Linked DNA regions of Homo sapiens: region 2 is linked to region 1. The links are contacts of gene promoters, found by promoter capture Hi-C in blood cells and fetal thymus (Javierre and others, 2016). All regions are on one chromosome and are shown on one strand. The core of a region is centred on a gene start or on the middle of the fragment in contact, and the rest is flanking DNA. Distances in the headings are between cores, read along the strand shown. Region 1 holds the start of ELMOD1 (ELMO domain containing 1). Region 2 has its middle 35 kb from the start of SLN.

Region 1 (7,045 bases), core at 261-2,760:
CTTCATGCAATAGTTGTGAAACAAGGACCACAGGGAGATGCAAGCAAATTACGTTTAAAAGACTATGGAGTAAAATTCTTTTGTCAGGTGGATTAATCTATCCCTAATGAATCTCTCCCGAGAAGCTTTTCCCTCCAAAGGTCTATCTTTTTCCAAGACGTTTATTCAGGGAGGTATCCTTCATATCTCCCTGAAAAGAAAGAAAAGTAAATAGTGGCTAATGCTTTTAACAATGATTAAAAAAATCAGAAAGGTCAAGGCTTTAAGGTCATTTAATGTGAAGAGGAAATAAGATAAATGTTCAGCATTTAAGGATTATCACTAACCCAACTTTTCATAAACACAGAATAGTGGAGGTGGAACCTGCAGAGACTTTTATTCAGGGAACATCCACTGCGGGACAGGCAGATGCTTTGGTATCCAGGCTGCTCCGCGCCGCCAGCTGCCCAAGTAATCCTCACAACAGCCCGCAGAGGTAGGTATTAACCACCCTTTGTTTTACAGGTGAGGAAACAGAGGCACAAGACGGTCAGGTAACCGGCTTGGAGTGATGAATGAAACTAAAATAAGCGCCGACCTCGAAGCTCATTTGGTCTTTCCCCAACCCCATGCGGCCTCATTAAAGAGACTTTTTTGATTAGCTATGGAGAAAACGTTCTTCATCAAACATGAAATGCAATCCGGAAGGCACAGGTTTCTCTCTCTCTCTCTCTCTCTCTCTCTCTCTCTCTCTCTCTCTCTCTCTCTCTCTCTCTCTCTCTCTCTCTCTCTCTCTCTCTCTCTCTCTCTCTCTCTCTCTCTCTGTCTGTATGAAGTGGCTTCTGGGGCCCCACGAAGCAATGTTCCCCCAAACAGCCCCGGACGAGGGTGTCTATAATTCATCCTGTTATAATTAACCCCGGGGTTACGGTATTGCTTCTAAAGCCCTTGTTGAAATGCAGATATGGACCTCGCAGGATTGACACGATCTCTCAATTACACCTAATTAAAGAGCTGGCTCTTTGAGAATCTGACCCGACTGGGCCAGGAGTGGGAAAGGCGGGGGCTGCCGGTTGGGGTGAGGGATAGGGTTCTGCAGTCCCGGGAAGGCAGGTGAAGGGTGGGGATCAGGATTGGAAGAGTCACTGGGTGCTCGGTGAGACGAGGGAGGTTGGAGCTGAACTAAAACAAAGTTTGACTTCTGGACAATTATCCAGGGAGAGGGCGGGGAACACACCTTGCCCGGACTGTCTGGGAATCCCATTGACAGGTCATCTCAGGTTCACCATCTTCCTGTCGTGGGCTCCTCCAGGGAGGCCACCCGGGAGCAATTAAACTGGGCCACACCAGCCACCTCCCACAGCAGCGGGGTCCGCAGATTTAACCCTTTCCCCCCAGATTCCGGCACTGGGTGCCGCGCTCTCTCCCCCAGCACCGCGCCCGCGCCCCCGGCTCCCGGACTGGGCATGCTCAGTAGCCGCCCGCTTCGTGCTCCCAGGGAAGCCTCTGCACGCCCTCCCCCGCTGCTCTCGGTCGCCTCCTCGCCGCCAGCCGCCCCGGGTGCATCCCGGCTTGCTCCGCTCCACGCGACCCAGATTCCTGCCCCGCCCCCGCCCCTTCCGCGCCCGCAGCCAGTGCGGCAGCCGCGGCCGCCCCTGTCCAGCCTCGGCGCCCGGGACCGAGCGCGTCGCTCGCCGCCGCGGAGCGCGTAGCCGGAGCGCCTGGGGAAGGCGGAGATGAAGACCACGCCGCCGCGCGCCGGGAGCTGCTGAGCCTACCGCCGCCAGAGTCCAGGTGATTGGCGACCCCAGAGGAGCCTAGGGAGTAGGGGCGAATGCCCTTGGGGAGGAGAGAGGTGCGGCGAGGACGCGAGGCATCACGCAAGCTGCGCTGTGCCTGGGAGGCAGCAGAAATGCTAAGCATCGGGGGCAGAGAGGGAACGGGAATGAAAGTGCACTCTGCCTTGGTGCAGGGGCTCCGGGGTCACCCAGGACAGTGATTTCCCCTTCTATCCTGTCCTCCCAATTAACACCCGAGAGGCTGCAGGTCGGCGCGAGAGGCTGTTTGCATCTCGGCCCGGGCGTAGGTCGCCTAGCGACCTAACGCCGAGGGCTCGGGGAAGGGATCCCAGACAGAGCCAAAATGGAAGGCGGGACAAGGGCGGCCTGGCTGGGGCGAGGGGCTGGTCTGGGTCCCTGGGAACCCCTTGCCTTGTGGGCTTCGGTCTCCAGGGAGGAGCTAGGCAGCCGGGCTGCGGGGCCGCCGGACTGTGGGGTCCTCCGCGCAGCGAGCTGGGAGGAGCGGTCGGCTGGGCTGTTGAGCTGCGCCTCCTCCAACTGCTGGGAAACTCCGCACTTCAATATTGGAGCATCTCTTTCCCGGGCAGGTAGAATTGGACAGCCGAGTGGGGAGTGACAGCTGACAGCTGACGGGGCTGTTAAAAGCAGAGCAGTGGAGTGTGGTGGTGGGGTGAGCTGTTGTGGGTGCTTTTTTTTGTTTTCCAAGTGTGGGTACGGGCTGTTCTGACTCAGTGTTTATGCTCAACCTCTAAGCGGCGAGTTCGGTAACACATCTTATGAATATTTCAGGAACGACCTCACGGGCTCACTTGCTTCAGATCAAGTTTAATGAATATGTTGTCAGCCTTTCTGCTCTGCACAGTGCCCTGAGCTTTCCACATTTCATCCCTTTCCCCCACCACCTAGGAAAATACGCTGCTAACCCCCAGTGGGCCGTAGATTGGTACTATCAATTGAGTCTGTCATTTGGAGAGACCAATTTTGGGCAGGCATCCAGGCATTGTTCTGCATCTCTGCAATGTATACGTTTTGTGCCGGTGGCTTGACAACCGTCCTTAACTGGTGCTGCCAATATGGTGGAAAGCAGGTAGTATGCTTGTATTGGGATAAATGTCTTAATTCATTAACCTATTATGACAACACGTAGTTACAGCAGACTTAGTCATTCCCTCCCCCAGAAGTTTTCTCGGGGGTCAGTTTAGTTGGTATTTTGCCAAAGGCACACTCTTGTATCTACATTGGGAGGTATTTCTCTCATCTTAATCTTTTTCATAGGAAGAAGAAATAAATGTCTTCTCTGTAAGACATCACTGTCAAGAACACTGAAAGAAGAACCCATTAACGTAGGGAACGTTGAGGACTGGAACAGGTTGTAGGGCGTCTTCCTACACTTTGGGTTATAACTTCCATTGCATCACCACCATTTACCAGTAAACCAGCACACACAGCAATCAGTACTCGAAATGGTTCTCTTTTGCAGAAAAAGCCTGCTTTTCTCCCAGCTTTGGTGAGATAGATACGTAATCTTCGTAAAGACCTATAAGGAATTCCTCTGTGGAACAAAATTTTAAGCCTCCAGTACAGGATGCTGAAAGAAGCAACTCTTTAATCTTGCCAGCCCATGCACAGTGAAGCTGAAGTGCTTCAATTTACAGATGTTTTACATTTAGGGAAGGCTTTTCCAACAAAGACCTACCGCAGTTACATCACAGGCTCCACCTCCGCCTGCCAGGCTGCTTCTGCAAGGCTGTTAGTAAGGATACTATGTATTGCTGTGCTTGATTAATGAAGAAAATAAATCTCCAAATCAAAGATTTGTTTATTTCTCTTTTTGCATTCTGCTGATTTAATTGAAAATATGAAAATTTCAAAAATTAATACTTGCAGCCAGGACTTAACTGAGGCATGATAATAACTCTATAAATGTTAGCTTTCCAAGAGATCTTAAGCAAAATTACAGTATTCTTTGTAAAATCTTCGATAAATTGTATTATAAGAAAAATTCTATGAAATGGACAAAATAAGTGAAAATGTCATGTAATAAATTAAGCAGCATTTCTTAAAGCACGTTACTGAGATGTTCAGAAAGAAACCTAGTTGCATTAACAGACATGAAATCTGGATGATTGAGAAGTTTGCGGAGCTTGCATACAAATCCCCAGGTGCATTAAAGGAAGCGTTCTCCGAGTCCTCTGAGAATTTTTAACAAAGCACTGTTAGGTTTTCCAGATTTAGCAAATAAAAAGGTGGGCTGCCCAGTTAAATTTGAATTTCAGATAAACAGTGAATTATTGTTTTTACCTATGTCCCATGTAATATTTGGTACGAACTTATACTACAAAATATTATTAGTTGTTTATCCTAAATTCAGTTTCGACTGGGCAGCCTGTATTTTTCTGGCAACCTTAGTTACTGGAAATGTTTCATTCCTCCTTTTTGGGTCATTTATGGGTTGAAAAAATAAAGTGGAGCAGAAATCATATGCTGTTCTGCAGACAATCTGGGACAAGCTCAGTTCTGGTTCAAGCTTTTGAAAATAACTCATGCTTAAAAGTGAACAGTTTCACTTCAACACATATTGGTTGGGTATCTCTGCTTGCTAGGCTTAGTGGAAGGTGCCAAGGATGCAAAGATGACATGGGGAAATGGGGCAGGGGGAGGGATCTGCATCATAAGTTCTGGGAGTTGCTGTGCCAGTAGTGTGTGTTTATGGTGGTGGTGGAGGGGCGTGTCTACTGTAGGAGCCTAGAAGAGGCACTGAATTATGCTGGGCAGCTGTAGTCAGGGAGTGAGACGCCTAGCAGTTTTGACAGGGCTGGCCTTGAATAAGAGAGCGAGATCTTATCCTGGGCGAAAATGAGAAAAAAAAAAAATCTCTGTGTTAATAGTTAGTAGAGTGGTGCTGGAAGTTGAAGGATTTGATCTGATAGCCTCAGTGAGAGGACAGAGTGGCCTGCTGAGAATGAGGGAAGGGAGGGGGATTCTGAAAGAAAGATTTTAAATAGTTGCCAATGGGAATGGAAGAGAGAGCTGAAAAGGGACAAGTGCAGGAATTAGCAAATGGTACTTCGGTGAATGGACCTCAGTGCATTTAAAATAGCAATTGATCTGCTCTTGACTCATACCCTAAGTGCTAGTTTACTATTCTGTTACCATCTTGGTCTCCTCAGGTAAAAAGTTGTCATCACACAATACTGGAATATATCATTTAAATGTTTTATTACAATTATATAAAAGTAGATAATTAAATATAATATTTGAGATGCCGATCAATAGTCAGTTTCTTCTTGGCACAAATTTCTGAAATAAGATAAGCAGATGTCTTGGTTTTAGCAAATCTGTTGCTTCAAGTAGGAAAAGAAATTAAATTGAGATCATTTCTGATTTGATCCAGCTATCTTTAAAAAACTAGATTCTGATGATGGAAAGAGTGTACATTTTACAGAAATAGCACTATGTGAAAATGACTCTATGCTTGTAGTACCACAGAGGACCTAGTCAGAATGTTCCAAATGCAGTTAATTCCAAAAAACTGGCACACCACATACATGTGTGTCTTTGAAGACCCAGAAGCTACTTTCATTATTGAATAACGTGGTAAATTTCCAGGAAAGTTGATGATCAAACCACTGCAGTCCATGTAGAGAACAGTTACTCATTTCTTGAAGATTCCAATTTGCAGACTCCAGCAACTGATAATACAATGTCGTTCTAGATTGCCCTTCTGTCAATAAATCTGTTTTTTTTTTTTTGGAACCATCCTTCAGAAGAGCCTCATGTGTTTGAGTGTCCATATGTGTGGTTAAATTTCCACTTCAATTTTATAATAAGGTCTTAAAATTATAAAAATTACCCTATACTAAAACTTATAACTAAGTAGCTCATTAGGGTCTTTTTTCTCAAATGATTATCCTTTCAACAGAGCAGAAAACAGTTCTACTTCAGGTTTTTCTACTGTTCCTGTTTGCAATGTTTGCCAAACACATTCTGCCTTATAATTCTGATAGTATATGATAAAAAAATATGATCAAGAATGTATTGATGTTGCTAAAATTTCAAGGCAATTAGGCCATAGGTTTTGTTTTCAGCAAGGCTTCGCATGAACACGGCTTATTAAAGAAAGGCTTACTGCAGTAATCCTCAATGACAGTTTATGTGGAATATCACCCAGAGAGAACCTTAACTGAAATTGTGTGCCCAATTTACATTTTATATTCTAAGTCCTCAGTGGATACTCTGAATTTAAAGATTCTGAAGACAGTATGTTCTTTCATCCTGGGAGCTTTTAACCTTCCAACTCACTTATGCTGACCATGAGCAAGTCATATTTTATATCAGTTTCTATGCTGTAAAATGGAAGGTATGCAAATTAAAAAAATAATATTGTGCCAGCCCTAATCTCAGTATCTATAAAATAAACTCTTAAGTGTTTCTATGGTTCCAAGGGATGAATAACTTTATTCTCAATGAAAGTAGATGATTTGTACAATGTCTGGGTACTCTATATGATATTTAAGATGCCATCAAAATAATTCACAATTTGATTTTTTTTGCTTTTTTGGTGCAAGGCAAAATAATTGTGGCAAATGCCTAAGGAGAGCTTGTTAAGCCTTTTTAAAAAATCAGTCTCATGCAAGGCAATAACTGTAGATTCAAAAGTCTTTACATAACTTTTAAATGTTTCCATTTTAATTATTGGGATTAGGACTTGGGTAATTAGAATGCTGGTTTTAAGAGCTCATTTCAGCTGTTATAACTCTCCTTTCTATTTTTTATTTTTTTTGTGTACAAGTAGTTGGTGAAAGGCTACCATATGTTTTGAAGGTTTCATTCATAATGAAACTAATAATTTATTTATCTCACAGCTGTTTTTTGACTTAACAGATATCATCAGTGACATCAGAAACTCTGTTCCCTAAATCTTTTTTACTTTACCAGTTGGCATTATCAATATTTAAAATGTGAATTAATCAATCTTTGGAATGAATTTACTGTACATTTCTTACTTTTTCCTTTAAAAGAATAGGAATATTCCGCTCTTCAGAATTTGGAAGCCAGATTTTCTGAAGATTCCATATTCCATAAACACTGACATGTTAATTTCAGATTTCCTTTGCTTTATAATCCACTGAAATGAGCAAAAACTTAAATAATTGCTTTTAGTTGAGAAGCTCAATTGTACATTCTCTTAAAATGATAAACATTTATCAAAGCTATTTAAATTAAAATGCCTATTATGTACATCATTAGTCATAATTTTAAAAGCC
Region 2 (7,184 bases), core at 3,077-5,576, 87 kb after region 1:
TAAGTACATTTATTTGGAGAACTTTTTTCCAGCTTTCAAAAGCATCTTTTATTAAACTTCTCAACATCATTCTATTTCTTTACAACATGAGGTTGTAAGAAATATATGAAGAGATTCCATCTACCCTTCACTCAGTTTCCCCCAGTGGTAACAACTTGCATAACTGTGATACAAAATTATAGCCAGGAAATTGCCATTGATACAATTTACCCACTTACTCAGATTTCATCAGTTTTACCTGTGTGTGTTTCCATGCAACTTTATCGTGTTGGTAGATTCATGAAATCATCACCACAATCAATATGTGGAACAGTTCCATCACCATAAATATGCCACCTCCCTCCCTCAACCCCCCATAAGCCCTGGCAACCACTAATCTGTTCTTCATCTCTATCATTTGATCATTTCAAGAATGTTATAAATAGAATCATACAGTTGATAACCTTTTTTTGGATTGGCTTTTTCACTCAGCATAATTCCCTTGAGATCCATCCAAGTTTTTGTGTGCATCAATAATTCACTCCTTTTTATTGCTGAGTAGTATTCCATGGAGTGAGCTTACCACAGTTTGTTTAGCAGGTTTACCCTAAGCAGTTGCCAGCTTGAATTTTCCCTTTAGCTTAGTGATTTGGGGGCCCCAAGATATTTTCCTTTCACATAGGTATATGGTGATATCTCACTGTGGTTTACATTTGGTATTTCCCTAATAACTAAAATGTTGTACATCTTTTCATGGGTTTTTTTTTTTTTTTTTTTTGCTATTTTATAACCTCTGCAGTGAAATGACTGTTCATATCTTTTGCCCATATTCTGGTTGAATCATTTGTTTAGTTTTGAGAGTTCTTTATACGTATGGGATACTAGTCTTTTGTCAGGTATGTGGCTTGCAAATATTTTTTACCAGTCTTTAGTTTGTCTTTTTATCCCCTTAATAGAGTCTTTCACAAAACAAAGATTTTAATTTTGATGAGGCCCAATTTATCAATTTTCCTCTTGTGGATCGTGACACTTTTGGTGTCAAGTCCAAGAACTCATTGCTCAGTCCTAGGCCCTGTAGATTTTCTATGATTTTTTTTCCTAAAGGTTTTTGAGTTTCATATTTTACATTTAAGTCTCTGATCCATCTTGAGTTAACTGTATATAAAGTAGAAAGTTTAGATTGAGGTTCATTTTTTTAGCCTATAGATATTTAATTGCTCCTGCGACATTTGTTGGAAAGGCTATCCTTCCTCCGTTGAATTGTTTTTACACCTTTGTCAAAAATCACTTGGATGTATTTCTGTGGGTGCGTAGTTATTTTAAAAAATCATTGAATCTCTCTGCTCTTCAGTTTCTTGTCTGGATAATAACAGTTCATTCAGAAAATTATTTATTAATCTGCTATGAGGCAGACAGTGTGCCAGGCACACTATAGCTGCCCTTAAATTGTTATCAGTCTTGGAAGTGAGTAAACATCTAATCAAATACATCAAGATGGAACAAGGGTTATGACTGATCTCAGAGAGCTCTGAGAGCACCAATCTTGGCTGAGGGTAAGGGTTAAAGATCTCCCCAGGAAGACTGTTGCTTAACCCAAGTCTTTAAAGAAGAGTAGGAATCTCCAGGTAAGCAGGGGCTGCCAGTTGTTCTCCAATATCTGATGGAACCTCCTCTCATAGTAACAGAAAATCTCAATTTTAAACTGGAGCACATGGTTCCCCAGAACAAAGACTTACATTTCCTGACTTTACTTCCAGCTAGGTATTTGACTAATTCTGATTAATAGCATGTAGGTGGGAGCGTTGTTGGAAGCTTCTAAGATTATTACATTAAAGATTTGTGGAACTGAGGCCAGGCACGGTGGCTCATGCCTGTAATCCTAGCACTTTGGGATGCCAAGGGAGATGGATCGCTTTGAGCTCAAGAGTTCAAGACCAGCCTGGGCAACATGGCAAAACCCCATTTCTACAAAAGAAAAAAAATACAAAAAGTAGCTGGGCATGGTGTCACGCACCTGTGGTCCCAGCTACTCGGGAGGCTGCCAAAGGATCACTTGAGCCAGGAAGCGGAGGTCTGCAGTGAGCCGAGATCATGCCACTGCACTCTGGCCTGGGCAACAGAGTGAGACCCTGTCTCAATAAAAAAAAATTTTTTTTTAAGATATGTGGAACTTACTCTCTGCTCCTTTGTTTCTAGGTTCTTCTTGCTGCTATAAACTGGATGTGACATTTGCCTTCTTGGACCATAAATACAAGAGCCACATCCTAGGGATGTCAGAGTGGTGAGTTGGACATAGCCTAGATCCCTGAGAACCTCAGCAGATCTACCAGCTTTGGTCTGTCCTCCTCTAGACTTGAATGTGAAAGTGAAATAAGCCATCTTGTTTAAGCTGCTAGCTTTTATTTAAATCTCTGTTATTTACAGCCTGACCTAATGTTAACTAACAGACCAGGTGCAAACACATGGACATATACATGACACATCCAGAGAACAATGTTAGCACAGAATGGCTGGAGCACGGATGTTGTTGGTACCTAACGAGAAATGAGGCAGGAGCCAGAGACAAAGGCAGAAGCCAGGTCGTGAAGGGTGTGGTATAACAGGTCTGCTTGTATTCAGGAACACAGATCCTTTCTTTGAAATCTTTCCTGGAGGAGGATTTAGGAATACCCACACATCCAGATGTGCTCTTCCACAAACGATTGAGAGAGAGTGTGTTGGCCTTGGCTTTGGTGCTATGCCAGAGCCCTGAGCAGGTTGCTGCCTTCTGCAGCTCAACCCTCCTGGCTTCTTTGCTGCTGCAGCAGCTGACACTGCAGCTGTGGGTCATGCAGATGTTATGACAAATCATTCAGAGTCCCCCTGGTCCCTAGGTCCCTGCAGCAATAGCCTCACCAAAAATACCTAAAAAACAGTGTCTTCAGGCTCGCACAAACTCCTCCATTAGGGGGAACCCAAGCCCAGATGGGATTTTAGACACAATTCCACACGCTCCATCCCTCTCCTGGGGCCAAAGCACAAAACTCCTTCCTTCAGCTTCAGAATTCCCAAACACACACACATGCATACACACACACGCATGCACACCCATATAGATTCACGCAAATATGCATATATATACACACGTATATGAGGCAGCCCTGTGACTATCGCAGAGGCCTGATGTGGTCACATTTGCATCTAAGAAATTCTGTCTGCCTGCCTCTTGAAGAATGGTTGGAAGGAAGCAGAAAAAGAAACAAATAGAACTGTGGTTGCCCAGGGAAGAAATTCCGAGGGCCTGAACCAAAGCAGAGACTGAGGGGATATATTTGAGTATCCCATCCCCTCAGAGATATTTGCGTAGCACAAAATAAGTAAAATCAGCAGGATTTGGTAACCGGCTAGATGTAGGGGTGAGGTATAGGGAGGAGGGTAGGATGATTTCTGAGACTAGATGACTTAAGTTATTAATAATAATAATAGTGGCCGGGCACAGTGGCTCCCGTCTGTAATCCCAGCACTTTCGGAAGCCGAGGTGGGCGGATCACAAGGTCAGGAGATTGAGACCATCCTGGCTAACATGGTGAAACCCCATCTCTACTAAAAAAAATACAAAAAATTAGCCGGGTCTAGTGACAGGCGCCTGTAGTCCCAGCTACTCAGGAGGCTGAGGCAGGAGAATGGCGTGAACCCGGGAGGCAGAGCTTGCAGTGAGCCGAGATCCCACCACTGCACTCCAGCCTGGGCGACAGAGCGAGACTCTGTCTCAAAAATAATAATAATAATAATAATAATAATAATAATAATAATAGCGATAGCTACCAATGACTGACCACCTAGTGCATGCTATTCATTGAGTCAAGTGTATTCTGGCTTTGTTTTCTCTCACTCATCAGCTTCACACACCGTGGGGCAGACTTGCTTATGGTCCTATTATATTAGGACAAATTCATTTTCTTTTTTTTTTTTTTTTTTTGAGACAGAGTCTCACTCTGTTGCCCAGGCTGGAGTGCAGTGGTGTGATCTCGGTCACTGCAACCTCCACCTCCCGGGTTCAGGCCATTCTCCTGCCTCAGTCTCCTGAGTAGCTGGGATTATAGGCATGTGCCACCACATCCAGCTGATTTTTGAATTTTTAGTAGAGACGGGGTTTCACTGTGTTGGCCGGGCTGGTCTTCAACTCCTGACCTCAGGTGATCCACCCGCCTTGGCCTCCCAAAGTGCTGGGATTATAGGTGTGAGCCACTGAGCCCGGCCCATTTTCTCTTTTAACTCTCAAACTAATTCTGTGGTATATTGTCTTTATCCATACTTTACAAATAAGAAAACTGAGTACCATGCTTACAGCTTCCCAGCTTTAAGAAACTAGCACAGACGTGCTGCAAACCCAGCTTTTCTGGCTCAGCTCAGTTCTTTATTACACAACATATGCTACATCCCACCAGTTCAGCACTTAAATTATGTTAGAAATGGAACTGAAAGAAAATATACCAAAATGGTTATCTTTGGGTGGTAGGATTAGAAGTTATTTTTATTTTATACATACTATTTCTGTTAACCACATTTTCTTTCATGAGTATATATGCTATCTGTAATCTGGAGAAAATAATAAATGTTTTTATTTAAATAACACAAATAACCTTAAGAGAAAGAAAGAACAGCCTCAGGAGAGTGAATTTATGCATTTGGCAAGGAAGAGGAGACCCTCTTAAGTATTCAGGCCAGGTTGCCATTAGCAATGATAGCCAACCCTAGCAATATTCCAGATAAAAGCCTTGTCAGAGGAGCCCCCTGGGCTGGCGCTGACCAGGGCCCTCCTTTTGCTTAGCCATGACCTTGAGAGTTTGTCATCGTCTCGCTGGCTGTCAGAGACCACTGCGTTTTATTTATGTTTTGTTTTGTTTTGTTTTGCTTAATTTTACCAGTAATAAATTTAGGCACTGAAGCAAAAATTCCAGACAGTACATCCTCTGCCGACACTTCATAACTCTCTAAATAATGACATCATGAATATTTATGTCTTGCTATTATCGCTGCTGCAAGGAATGATAGTTTTAGCACAACTGACCGTATTCATTTTCCATCTCACTGCTCAACCCTGAATATTGTGTCTTTATTTTCTCCCGCTCATCAGCTTCACGCACCCTGGGGCCGACTTGCTTATGGTCCTGTTACATGGGAGGAATATCCCTCAAAGAAATGTTCATTTTTCCTGTTCTGGCACAATCAGAGAGTCAGGGAACCCTGCATTCTCTTTTCCAGGCTTTGGCAAATCTTCATCAAGGGCCTATTACATGCCAGGCATTCTGCTAGGTACCTGGATACAAGATGAATAAGACCTACTCCTCGCCTGCAGGTCCAAGAGTTGGGAGACAGACATTTAAACAGTTAATTATGCTGGAGTGAGCTGAGGGCAATGGTTGGTACCAAGTCCTAGGTATTATGGGAGAGGCCATGCATGGGGTCAACATGAATAAAGGCACTAAGGTGAGAAAGAGCACAGAACATTACAAGCAATTCAGTGTTGTCAGAGAGCAGGGAGCATGGGATAAAAATGGTGTTGTGTTACTTAGGTTTGTGCAGTCTAGATGTGCTAACTCTGACTTTCACAATGACTCAACCAATTAAATGTGCTCAAATTCACAGTTTGTTACAAGAGAGTCACATATGATTAATGAAGCAATAATATCCTGTATAACATCCATAGAAGCAGTAATTGGAGGTAACAAACCACAGCGATGGGTTGGGAGACCAACACATGGCTAAGTGGGTCCAAAGTCCTTGACTTCAATCAGCAATGAAGTCACTGCTTCTCTTAGACAGAGCCTTGGGAGTGGATGGGGAGGGGGCAAACGCCAAGTTGGGGGGAGGCCTCAAAAGGTGGTCAGAGGGTCAAAAGGTGTCCTGTCCAAGGTCAGGTTCTTGCTGCCTTTATGGTCCTCCAGAGGTGTGTCCATTCTCAGTATCTCAGCCACCTTTCTGAATTTACTTTTTATTGGTTCGTTTCATGTCTCAGTGGTTCTAGGCCACAGCAGGTATTGTCTTACTACCTCAGTCCATTACACATATGTTTATCACTTTGAGATGTAAACAACTTCACCATGGGCTCAATGTCACTTGACGTGAGTGACTCCATTTTCAGACATTAGGATCACAAATCATTATCATATATCATGGCAACTAGATCTTGGATGATGGCTTAGTTAAAGAGCTGGAACTTGGCTAGGCATGGTGGCTTATGCCTGTAATCTGAACACTTTGGGAGGCCAAGGCAGGAGGATCCCTTGAGTTCAGGAGTTCAAGGCCAGCCTTGGCAACAAAGCAAGACCCTGTCTCTACAAAAAAAAAAAAAAAAAAATCAGCCAGGCATGGTGGTACACACCTGTAGACCTAGCTAGTAGGGAGGCTGAGGCATAAGGATTGCTTGATCCCAGGAGTTTGAAGCTACAGTGAGCTACTGATTGTATCACCACACTCCAACCTGAGCAACAGAGCAAGACTCTGTCTCAAAAAAAAAAAAAGCTGGAACTTGAGGCTGAATTTAAAGCATCAAAAAGAAAAAGAAACAGCAAGATTGTTGGGAAATTGGTAGTGTAGTCCAGGTGACACATTATAGGGGCCCAAACTGGAATTGTAGAAGTGAGTATATAGATGAAGAAACAGATTCGGAGAATACTGGGAAGGTTAAATCAGGAGGACACAATTACAGGAGAAAGAAGAGTGTGCATTTGAAAGAGTTGGGGTAGGTGTATCAGGGTGTGGGACATGGAGAAAAAGGAACCAATCAGTAGACAAATTTGTATATTTTCTTATGGATATTTGATCCATTTAAAATATGGAATCTTCCCATCTAGGTTCTTGTTTCTTTTCACATATTCAGATCTTCTTCTGGTCTCTCAATAAAGCTTTGTCACTTTCTTCGTATAGGTCTCATTTCTTGCTAGGTTAATACCTATGGATTTGGTGGGGGGGCGGGTTTGTAATTTCCCCGTTACTATTATAAATGGACTCTTTTTAATATCTTGTTCTCTCATTGGTTGCCTAAGTTAGACTTCCTTTGATTGCAAATAACAGAAAACCCAACTCAAATTGCTATAAACAAGTAATAGCTCATATTGAGTGCTTATTATTGCTAGAAATGGATCTAGGTACTTTATATGTACTAATCTTTTAACATTTAAATAAAATAAAAAGATTTACTGATTACCATCAATAAATATCAA

The links. Contacts are between HindIII fragments. The CHiCAGO score rates a contact against its expected background, and 5 or more counts as called.
Region 2: a contact is called between a fragment that was not itself captured here and the fragment with the promoter of ELMOD1 in region 1, in 1 of 17 cell types (endothelial precursors). The highest score is 5.6, in endothelial precursors.

The regions. Positions count from the first base shown.
Region 1 is chr11:107,589,637-107,596,681 of GRCh38, forward strand. It overlaps ELMOD1 (ELMO domain containing 1), which reads left to right and starts at 1,511. Exons shown (of 12, transcript NM_018712.4): 1 at 1,511-1,773. RefSeq lists silencers at 1,394-1,503, 1,564-1,703 and an enhancer at 1,954-2,013. The HindIII fragment of the contact is 4,180 bases long and covers 124-4,303 here.
Region 2 is chr11:107,673,763-107,680,946 of GRCh38, forward strand. No RefSeq gene overlaps it. Among named protein-coding and RNA genes, the nearest start is that of SLN, 35 kb to the right of the region's middle. The HindIII fragment of the contact is 5,075 bases long and covers 1,790-6,864 here.